Linked DNA regions of Homo sapiens: all the other regions are linked to region 1. Evidence: promoter capture Hi-C in 16 types of primary human blood cells and fetal thymus (Javierre and others, 2016). All regions are on one chromosome and are shown on one strand. The core of a region is centred on a gene start or on the middle of the fragment in contact, and the rest is flanking DNA. Distances in the headings are between cores, read along the strand shown.

Region 1 (2,762 bases), core at 229-2,728:
CTGCCTTGCAGCTGGATTCAGCTCTAGCACCCCTTCTCCAAATGAGCTTTGCCTTGCCTGCCCGCAATGTCTCCCGAAACAAAATATGAGGGTGTGATCCATGCCCATCTCTCAGATCAGGGACTTCAAATTAGGGTGGTTAAGCCCCCTCCTGCCCTCTCTCCCTCCTCCTTGTTTTCCCTTCTCGTTTACCCCACCCAATTTTAATGTTCAATTAAAAGTCACCTCCAAAGACATCTGGGTAGCAGTGTCTAGCTTAATTCGAAAAGAAAACCCGGAGTTCCCAGGCTCAGGTCCCGCTTCTTGTCCCACCCATTCCCCTGGCTCCTAAAGCCCGCGATTTCTCACCTCGGGTAGGAACCCCAGCCTGAGGGGAAAGTCCCCTCGGTCTCCTAACTCTAGCTCCCTCCGCCCAGCCCTAGTCCCCTCCTAGGAGACAGAGGTGCAAAATAAACCCGCGCAAAGGGGAGGAGGCTAAAGGTTTCAGCCGCCCAGACCAAATGGATCCTGCGCCCGGGTCTGAGCGCACCCCAGGCCGGGTGGAGACGAGGGGCGAGGCGAGGCCAGTGCTCGGCCGCCCCCTCGTGGAAGGAGCCGCACATTGCCGAGCCTTGCCTACTTGCCGCGCTGGACCCCGGCGTCCCGCCAGCCTCCAAGCGTAGCCGACGGGCGGGTGCCCGAGGCCCTCGTGAGCTGGGATTGGGGGAAAGCAAGCGGGCTTTGGGCGGGAGTCCATCTCTCTGGATCCCTACAAGGACCCAGAAGAGAGTCGGGAGCGAGAGAGGCCGGACGCCTAGGTCTCCCGAGCGTCTCTCGCCCCTCCACCCCCACCTCGGGGCTTTCCCCACCTCCTCGAGGGGAAGCAGCTGGCGGAGCCGTCCGGTCGCAGGACAATGGAAGGAAACCAACTAGAAATCATATCCGCCCTCTCCGTACCCCGCCCGGCCAGAGCCCCCCTTTTTGTAGGCCCGGGTAGAGTAGCCTGTCATTCACACCACACCCTCCCCGTCTGAGACCCTACGGGAGCCCACTGTCGTCTGCCCAAACCTGCTGTCTCGTTGGGCTCCCCCTTTTCTCCCTTAACACAGTACAAGAGAGGGAGAGGGGGTTGCCGTATGCACTTTGTCCTGCAGCAAAGGTTGGCTCCTGGCAAACCCTCCCAAAAGCCAACACACCAATTTTCACTGGCCCAGGCCTTCCGACGACTCAGACTCCCGTATTGCCAACCTCGATATCCCTAACCTCCTCCCCAATTCCAATATCCCCGTCCTCGTGTCCACTTGCAGTGACCCAAGACCCCCTACGTTACGACCACCCCTTGTTTCTGAGGTCCCGCCCTCGAGACGGAGACCCCGCCCTGGACTCGCCATCTGGAGAGCGAGGGAGGAAGGAAGGATACAGACCCAGGCGTTCACCCCACCTCCACCCCCGCCCCCGACATCCCGGCCAGATAAAGGAGCCGAGGCCAAGAGGGGAGAGAGACCCCGCCCCCCTTAAGAAGAGAAGCCGCGGCCCCTGCAGGACGGGGGTAAGAACAAGAGACTGAGGGAGCCAGACTCCTGGGTCCCCCAAGAGGGTAGGAGCTTGTGTGGAGCTTGCCATCAGCGAGCCTGAGTCCCAGAAATTGGGCTAAACTAGGGATTGGGGACTAGATAGGAGTCGCAGAATTCCGTAGTTCGGGGAAGGGAGCCTCGGCTGGGATTTGGAGGTGTGTGGACGGCAGGCCGTGAGATCTCGAGGCAGGGTTGGACACCTGAGACACAGGCGCGCAGAGGGGAGTGGCGGTGCTGGAGGGGCACTGGGGGTCGAACCCAGGGCGATGGGCGCGGGATTCCCCACGCTCGCCAACGACGCCGCGGTGTGGAACCTTCAACTGGCTCCAAGCGCTGTGGGATCTGGAAGAGGCAAGGGAGCGAGGGTGTCGTAGAGGGCAGAATGAACAAGAAGAATTAGGAGGGAGGCTGCGTGTGCCGGGGCTAGGGGCTGGAAGTCCTGGCTCTAGTTGCACCTCGGAAGGAAAAGGCAAACAGAGGAGGGAAGGCGTCTTAGGACTGCCTGGATCCAGAGCACTTTCCACGGCCTCTACAGGCCTGTGTCGCTATGGGTTCCCCCGCCGCCCCGGAGGGAGCGCTGGGCTACGTCCGCGAGTTCACTCGCCACTCCTCCGACGTGCTGGGCAACCTCAACGAGCTGCGCCTGCGCGGGATCCTCACTGACGTCACGCTGCTGGTTGGCGGGCAACCCCTCAGAGCACACAAGGCAGTTCTCATCGCCTGCAGGTTCGAGGGGTGGGGCCTGGGGCGGGGCCAAATGGGAAAGGGGTGGGACCACAGGGCCGTTGAGAGGGAATCCGAAGCCAAGTCTTTCAGAAGCAGGAGGCGGAGCGTCCCAGAATTGGGGGCGGGGTGATAGTGAGGAGGCGGGACTTTTTCAGGGGGCGGGGCTTCCTGAAGCTGCGCATGTCTCCCTTGGTTCCCCAGCCCCCAAAGGACTTATCTGCTCTCTCTCTAGTGGCTTCTTCTATTCAATTTTCCGGGGCCGTGCGGGAGTCGGGGTGGACGTGCTCTCTCTGCCCGGGGGTCCCGAAGCGAGAGGCTTCGCCCCTCTATTGGACTTCATGTACACTTCGCGCCTGCGCCTCTCTCCAGCCACTGCACCAGCAGTCCTAGCGGCCGCCACCTATTTGCAGATGGAGCACGTGGTCCAGGCATGCCACCGCTTCATCCAGGCCAGGTGAGGGACCCTGGCTCGGCGTTCTCTGT
Region 2 (2,772 bases), core at 65-2,564, 93 kb before region 1:
AAGCAATTTACAGATTAAATGCAATCCAATTACATTCTCTACAGAAATAGAAAAAAATCTTAAGACATATATGGAACCACAAAAGACCCCAAATAACCAAAGCAATCTGAGCAAAAGGAACAAAGCTGGAGGCATTACACTACCTGACTTCAAATTTTACTACAAAGCTATAGTAACCAAATCAGTATGACACTGGCATAAAAACAGACAGAATAGACCAATGGGACAGAATAGAGAACGCAGATGTAAATCCACACATTTACGGCCAGCTCATCTTCAACAAAGGTACCAAGAACATATAATGGGGGGAAGGATAGGCTTTTCAATAAATGGTGCCAAGAAAACTAGATAACTATATGCAGAAGAATGAAACTGGATCCTTCTCTCTTACCATATACAAAAAGCAAATCAAAATTGATTAAAGATTAAATCTAAATCCTCAAACCATGAAACTACTAGAAGAAAACATTGAGGAATCACTCCAGGACATTGGTCTGGGTGAAGATTTTTTTATGTCAGATCTCAAAAGCATAGGCAAACAAAGTAAAAATAGACAAATGGGATTATTTCAAGCTAAAAACTTCTGCATAGCAAAGGAAATAATCAATAAAGTGAAGAGAAAACCCACAGAATGGCAGAAAATATAACTAACCACCTGAGACGGGGTTAATAACCAGAAGGTATGGGGAGCTCAAACAACTCAATAGCAAAAACAAACAAACAAACAAAAACAACATAATCCAATTTAAAAATGGGCAATAGATCTGAGTAGACATTTCTCAAAAGAAGCCATACAAATGGCCAACAGGCATATAAAAAATATTCAACATCACAAATTATTAGAGAAATGCAAATCAATGAGATATCATCTCGCCCCAGTTAAAATGGCTTTTATCAAGAAGACAGGCAATAACGCAGGCTAGCGAGGATGTGGAAGAAAGGGAACCCTTGTACACTGTTGGTGGGAATGGAAATTAGTACAGCTACTACACAGAATAGCTTGGAGGTTCCTCAAAAAACTAAAAATTGTGCTACCATATGATCCAGGAATCCCACTCCTGGGTATATCTCCAAAAGAAAGGAAATGAATATATCAAAGAGCTATCTGCACGCCCATGTTTATTGCAGCACTATTCACAATAGCCAAAATATGGAATCGATCTAAGTGCCCATCAACGAATGAATGGCTAAAGAAAACGTGGTATATATACACAATGGAATATTATTCATCTGTAAAAAGGAATAAAATCCTGTCATTTGCAGCAACATAAATAAAACTAGAAGTCATTATGTTAAGTGACACAAAGAGACAAATACTACGTGTTCTCACTCATATGTGGAAGCTAAGAAAAAGTGGATCTCATGAAGGTAGAGAGTAGATTGGTGGTTACCAGAAGCCAGCAAGGGTAGCAGAAGTAGGGGATTCAAAGAAGTTGATAAATCAATACAAATATAAAGTTGAGAGAAGAAATAAGCTCCAGTGTTCAACAGATGAGTAGGGTGACTATAGTTTACAAAAACATACTGTACATTTCAAATTAGAAGAGAAAAATTCAAACATTTCTAGGATAAAGACAAATATTAAGGTGATGGATATCCCAAGTACACTGATGTGATGTATACAAATTATATGAATGTATTAAGTTATCATGTGTGCCCTGAAACTATGTAACTTATTATCCATCAATTTTTTAAATTGTTGAAAAAATGATTAAATGAATAAATAAAATATTGGGTCTTGGATGAGCCAGAAAATTTGGGAAGTCTGATTCTCTCTCAAATATTATATTCTAGGTATTCTTTGCCAGACAAAAGCATCATATCCCTTATAAAAATGCATCCAGTAGGTTATAATCTTGGGGGAAATGCCACATTATTTAGCTTCATTTTCCCCTTCAAGTCTTTCACATTGTTCAAAGCAGACAGCAAAGTGAAAGCATTATTTTGGGAGATGGGGAAAAGCCAGAATAGATTATTGGCAAGAAATAGAAACCACAAGATGAGGATCAAGAGTCAAGGTCCAGGTTTAGACAAGATCTCTGGATGTGGTTATTATGCCACAGAATCATCAAATGTCAACTGAGGTTTTAAATACTGCTTAAAAATGCCAAGCCTGGAAATAGGTGCCTGTAATTCTTCAGTCCTTCAGTAAATACCCAGGCTATTAAAGTAGGTAATTCCCAGGAATGAAATCCTCCTTGCACCTCTCTTAGGGGTGGCCATGGAGGACACAAAACACAGATATTTATCTTTGGAAGAAGGAGGTAGAACTGTTTTTGAAAATATATATAAAGTATAGTTGTGTTTGGAGAAGCAGAGGCATTTTTGAAACTATATGTATAATTAGAATGGTATGTGAATATATATACAACCAAAGACAAAGGGGTAAAATGGGGTAAAAATCTACTATTATTCACTATACGGCACTCATTCTCAACTACCTTCTCAGATCTAAACTCTACTTTTCTGTAGAGAACCCCTTCCCTGTGGTTAGGACAGGGCCAACACTGACTTGCCACCATGACGACATCAGTGGGTACATGACCTAGACTCAGCAAATTATGCTACCCATAACATCGGCTACCATGATCATTTAAGATCTGGACATGAAATCTAAACTAGGTTCTCCCTGGACATTTTCTGAAAGGTATTAGAGAGTGGGTGTAGTGGCTCACACCTGTAATTCCAACATTTTGGGAGGCTGAGGTGGGAGGATTGCTTGAGCCCAGGAGTTCAAGACCAGACTGGGCAACATAGGGAGACCTTGTCTCT
Region 3 (2,711 bases), core at 176-2,675, 130 kb after region 1:
GCCTAGGCGCCACCTAGCCCTTCATTAGTAAGAGTGCACTTCCTAGAGATTCTAGGTTCACTGCAGTGAGTCAAAGTAGCTGAGAGCAGCGCTAATGATTTGCTTGGTTGGTTGACTGAAATCTGGTGTCCTCTTGGCCGGGCGCGGCGGCTCACACCTGTAATCCCAGCACTTTGGGAGGCCGAGGCAGGTGGATCACGAGGTCAGGAGATCGAGACCATCCTGGCTAACACAGTGAAACCCTGTCTCTACTAAAAATACAAAAAAAAATTAGCCGGGTGTGGTGGCGGGCGCCTGTAGTCCCAGCTACTCGGGAGGCTGAGGCAGGAGAATGGCGTGAACCCGGGAGGCGGAGCTTGCAGTGAGCCGAGATCACACCACTGCACTCCAGCTTGGGCGAGAGTGCAAGACTCCGTCTCAAAAAAAAAAAAAGATATCTGGTGTCCTCAGGAGTGGTCTCTGCTGATTGAGATTGATATGATACCAAACTTCCCTGGTATAATGTATTATAGAAGAAAGAATCCACAGGCCGGACCTCAGAGCGGAGTGGGAATAACAGACCAGCCAGTCACCTACCTGGTAGCAGCTTATAAGTTAATGGCGAAGGACCTCATGAAGGGTGTAACATATAAATTGACTCATAATTCAGCGTATAGGTTTGCCTTTCCCTGCCCGCAGTGCTCCTGCCAGCACTGTCCTCCATGGAGTTTCAGAAAGCTGTGTTCACTGTCATAGTATACACAACACACTCCAGAGCAAGCAACTCACAGCAAAAGAACTGCGGCATATGGGCTCAAGCCATGGAATCCATTGATCTTACCACGTACCCCATCACCCAGAAGCAACTTGCCTGATACAATGGAATTACCAAGTAAACACTCCACAATTATGCCAGCTGGAAGACAGGCCCCTGCAGGATGGGGGTGCCAGCCTACAGGATACTCCATAGCATTTGAACAATTCCTCTCTAGTGAGAATTCACAGGTCCAGAAATCAAAGTGTTTTTCTCCCTATTACTTTTTTTTTTTTTTTTTGAGACGGAGTCTTGCCCTGTTGCCCAGGCTGGAGTGCAGTTGTGCAATCTTGGCTCACTGCAACCTCTGCCTCCCAGGTTCAAGTGATTCTCCTGCCTCAACCTCCTGAGAAGCTGGGATTTTTGTATTTTTTTTTTTTTTAGTAGAGATGGGGTTTCACCACGTTGGCCGGGCTGGTCTTGAACTCCTGACCTCGTGATCTGCCCGCCTCGGCCTCCCAAAGTGCTGGGATTACAGGGTGAGCCACCATGCCAGGCCTCCCTATTACATTTAATAACTCACCTGTGTTTGAGTTCTACCAACTTTAGAGGTCATAATTCCCAAGGGTGAAATGCTTCCATCAGGAAACATAATCAGTTCCACTGAACTGGAAGTGGAGGTTTCCCCTGTGGCCATTTGGGGCCCTTCCTACCGCTGAGCAATAGGAAAAGAGAGGTCCCTGGACTGCCTGGGATGACTGATCCTGGTTATCAAGGGGAAAGGAGGTTGCTGCTACACAGTGGGGGAAGGGGTGTATCTAGAACTCAGGGGGCCCAATGCCTTGTAATACAATTTCACAGAAACTATAACAACCCAATAAAGGCTTCAGACCCTGCAGAAATGATGATTTGTGTTTTCCCATCAGAAAAAGACCCCCTGTCTGCCAAGGTGCTGGTTGAAGGCAGAGGGAACATTCAATGGGTAGTGGAAGAAAGAAGTGACAGGCAGACGCGGTGGCTCACGCCTGTAATCCCAGCATTTTGGGAGGCTGAGGTGGGTGGATCACTTGAGGTCAGGAGTTTGAGACCAGCCTGGCAAACATGGTGAAACCCCATCTCTACTAAAAATACAAAAATTAGCTGGGCGTGGCGGCGGGTGCCTGTAATCCCAGCTACTTGGGAGGCTGAGGCAGGAGAATTGCGTGAACCTAGGAGGCAGAGGTTGCAGTGAGCCAAGATCACACCACTGCACTCCAGCCTGGGAGACAGAGGGAGATTCTGTCTCAAAAAAAAAAAAAAAAAAAAAAAAACGAAGGCAGTTACATCAACTACAGCTTTGCAACCATGGCAGAAATAACTGCTGTAGCAAACATGGGTATCTTTTCTTGTTTGTTACAAATATGTATATGTTAATTAATTCATTATTTCTTTTCTTTTCTTTTTTATTTAGATGGAGTCTCACTCTGTTGCCCAGGCTGGAGTGCAGAGGTGCAATCTCAGCTCACTGCAACCTCTGCCTCTCGAGTTCAAGTGATTCTCCTGCCTCAGGCTTCCGAGTAGCTGGGATTACAGGCGCCCACCACCACACCCGGCTAATTTTTGTAATTTTAGTAGAGATGGGGTTTCGCCATGTTGGCCAGGGTGGTCTGGAACTCCTGACCTCAAGTGATCCACCCGCCTCGGCCTCCCAAAGTGCTGGAATTACAAGAGTGAGCCACCGCACCCAGTCTATGTATTTCCTTTTTTTTTTTTTTTTTTTTTGAGACGGAGTCTTGCTCTGTTGCCCAGGCTGGAGTGCAGTGTTGCAATCTCGGCTCGCTGCAAGCTCCGCCTCCCAGGCTCATGCCATTCTCCTGCCTCAGCCTCCGGAGTAGCTGGGACTACAGGCGCCCGCCACCACGCCCAGAGTATTTTTTGTATTTTTAGTAGAGACGGGGTTTCACCGTGTTAGCCAGGATGGTCTCCATCTCCTGACCTC

What was found. Contacts are between HindIII fragments. The CHiCAGO score rates a contact against its expected background, and 5 or more counts as called.
Region 2: a fragment that was not itself captured here is called in contact with the fragment with the promoter of BCL6B in region 1 in 1 of 17 cell types (total CD8 T cells); the score reaches 5.0 in total CD8 T cells.
Region 3: a contact is called between a fragment that was not itself captured here and the fragment with the promoter of BCL6B in region 1, in 1 of 17 cell types (monocytes). The highest score is 6.4, in monocytes.

The regions. Positions count from the first base shown.
Region 1 is chr17:7,021,572-7,024,333 of GRCh38, forward strand. It overlaps BCL6B (BCL6B transcription repressor), which reads left to right and starts at 1,479. Exons shown (of 9, transcript NM_181844.4): 1 at 1,479-1,528; 2 at 2,089-2,279; 3 at 2,512-2,733. The coding sequence starts at 2,101. RefSeq lists a silencer at 433-572. The HindIII fragment of the contact is 4,378 bases long and covers 1-2,762 here.
Region 2 is chr17:6,928,925-6,931,696 of GRCh38, forward strand. No RefSeq gene overlaps it. Among named protein-coding and RNA genes, the nearest start is that of ALOX12, 66 kb to the right of the region's middle. The HindIII fragment of the contact is 4,694 bases long and covers 1-2,772 here.
Region 3 is chr17:7,148,061-7,150,771 of GRCh38, forward strand. No RefSeq gene overlaps it. Among named protein-coding and RNA genes, the nearest start is that of ASGR1, 30 kb to the right of the region's middle. The HindIII fragment of the contact is 6,446 bases long and covers 1-2,711 here.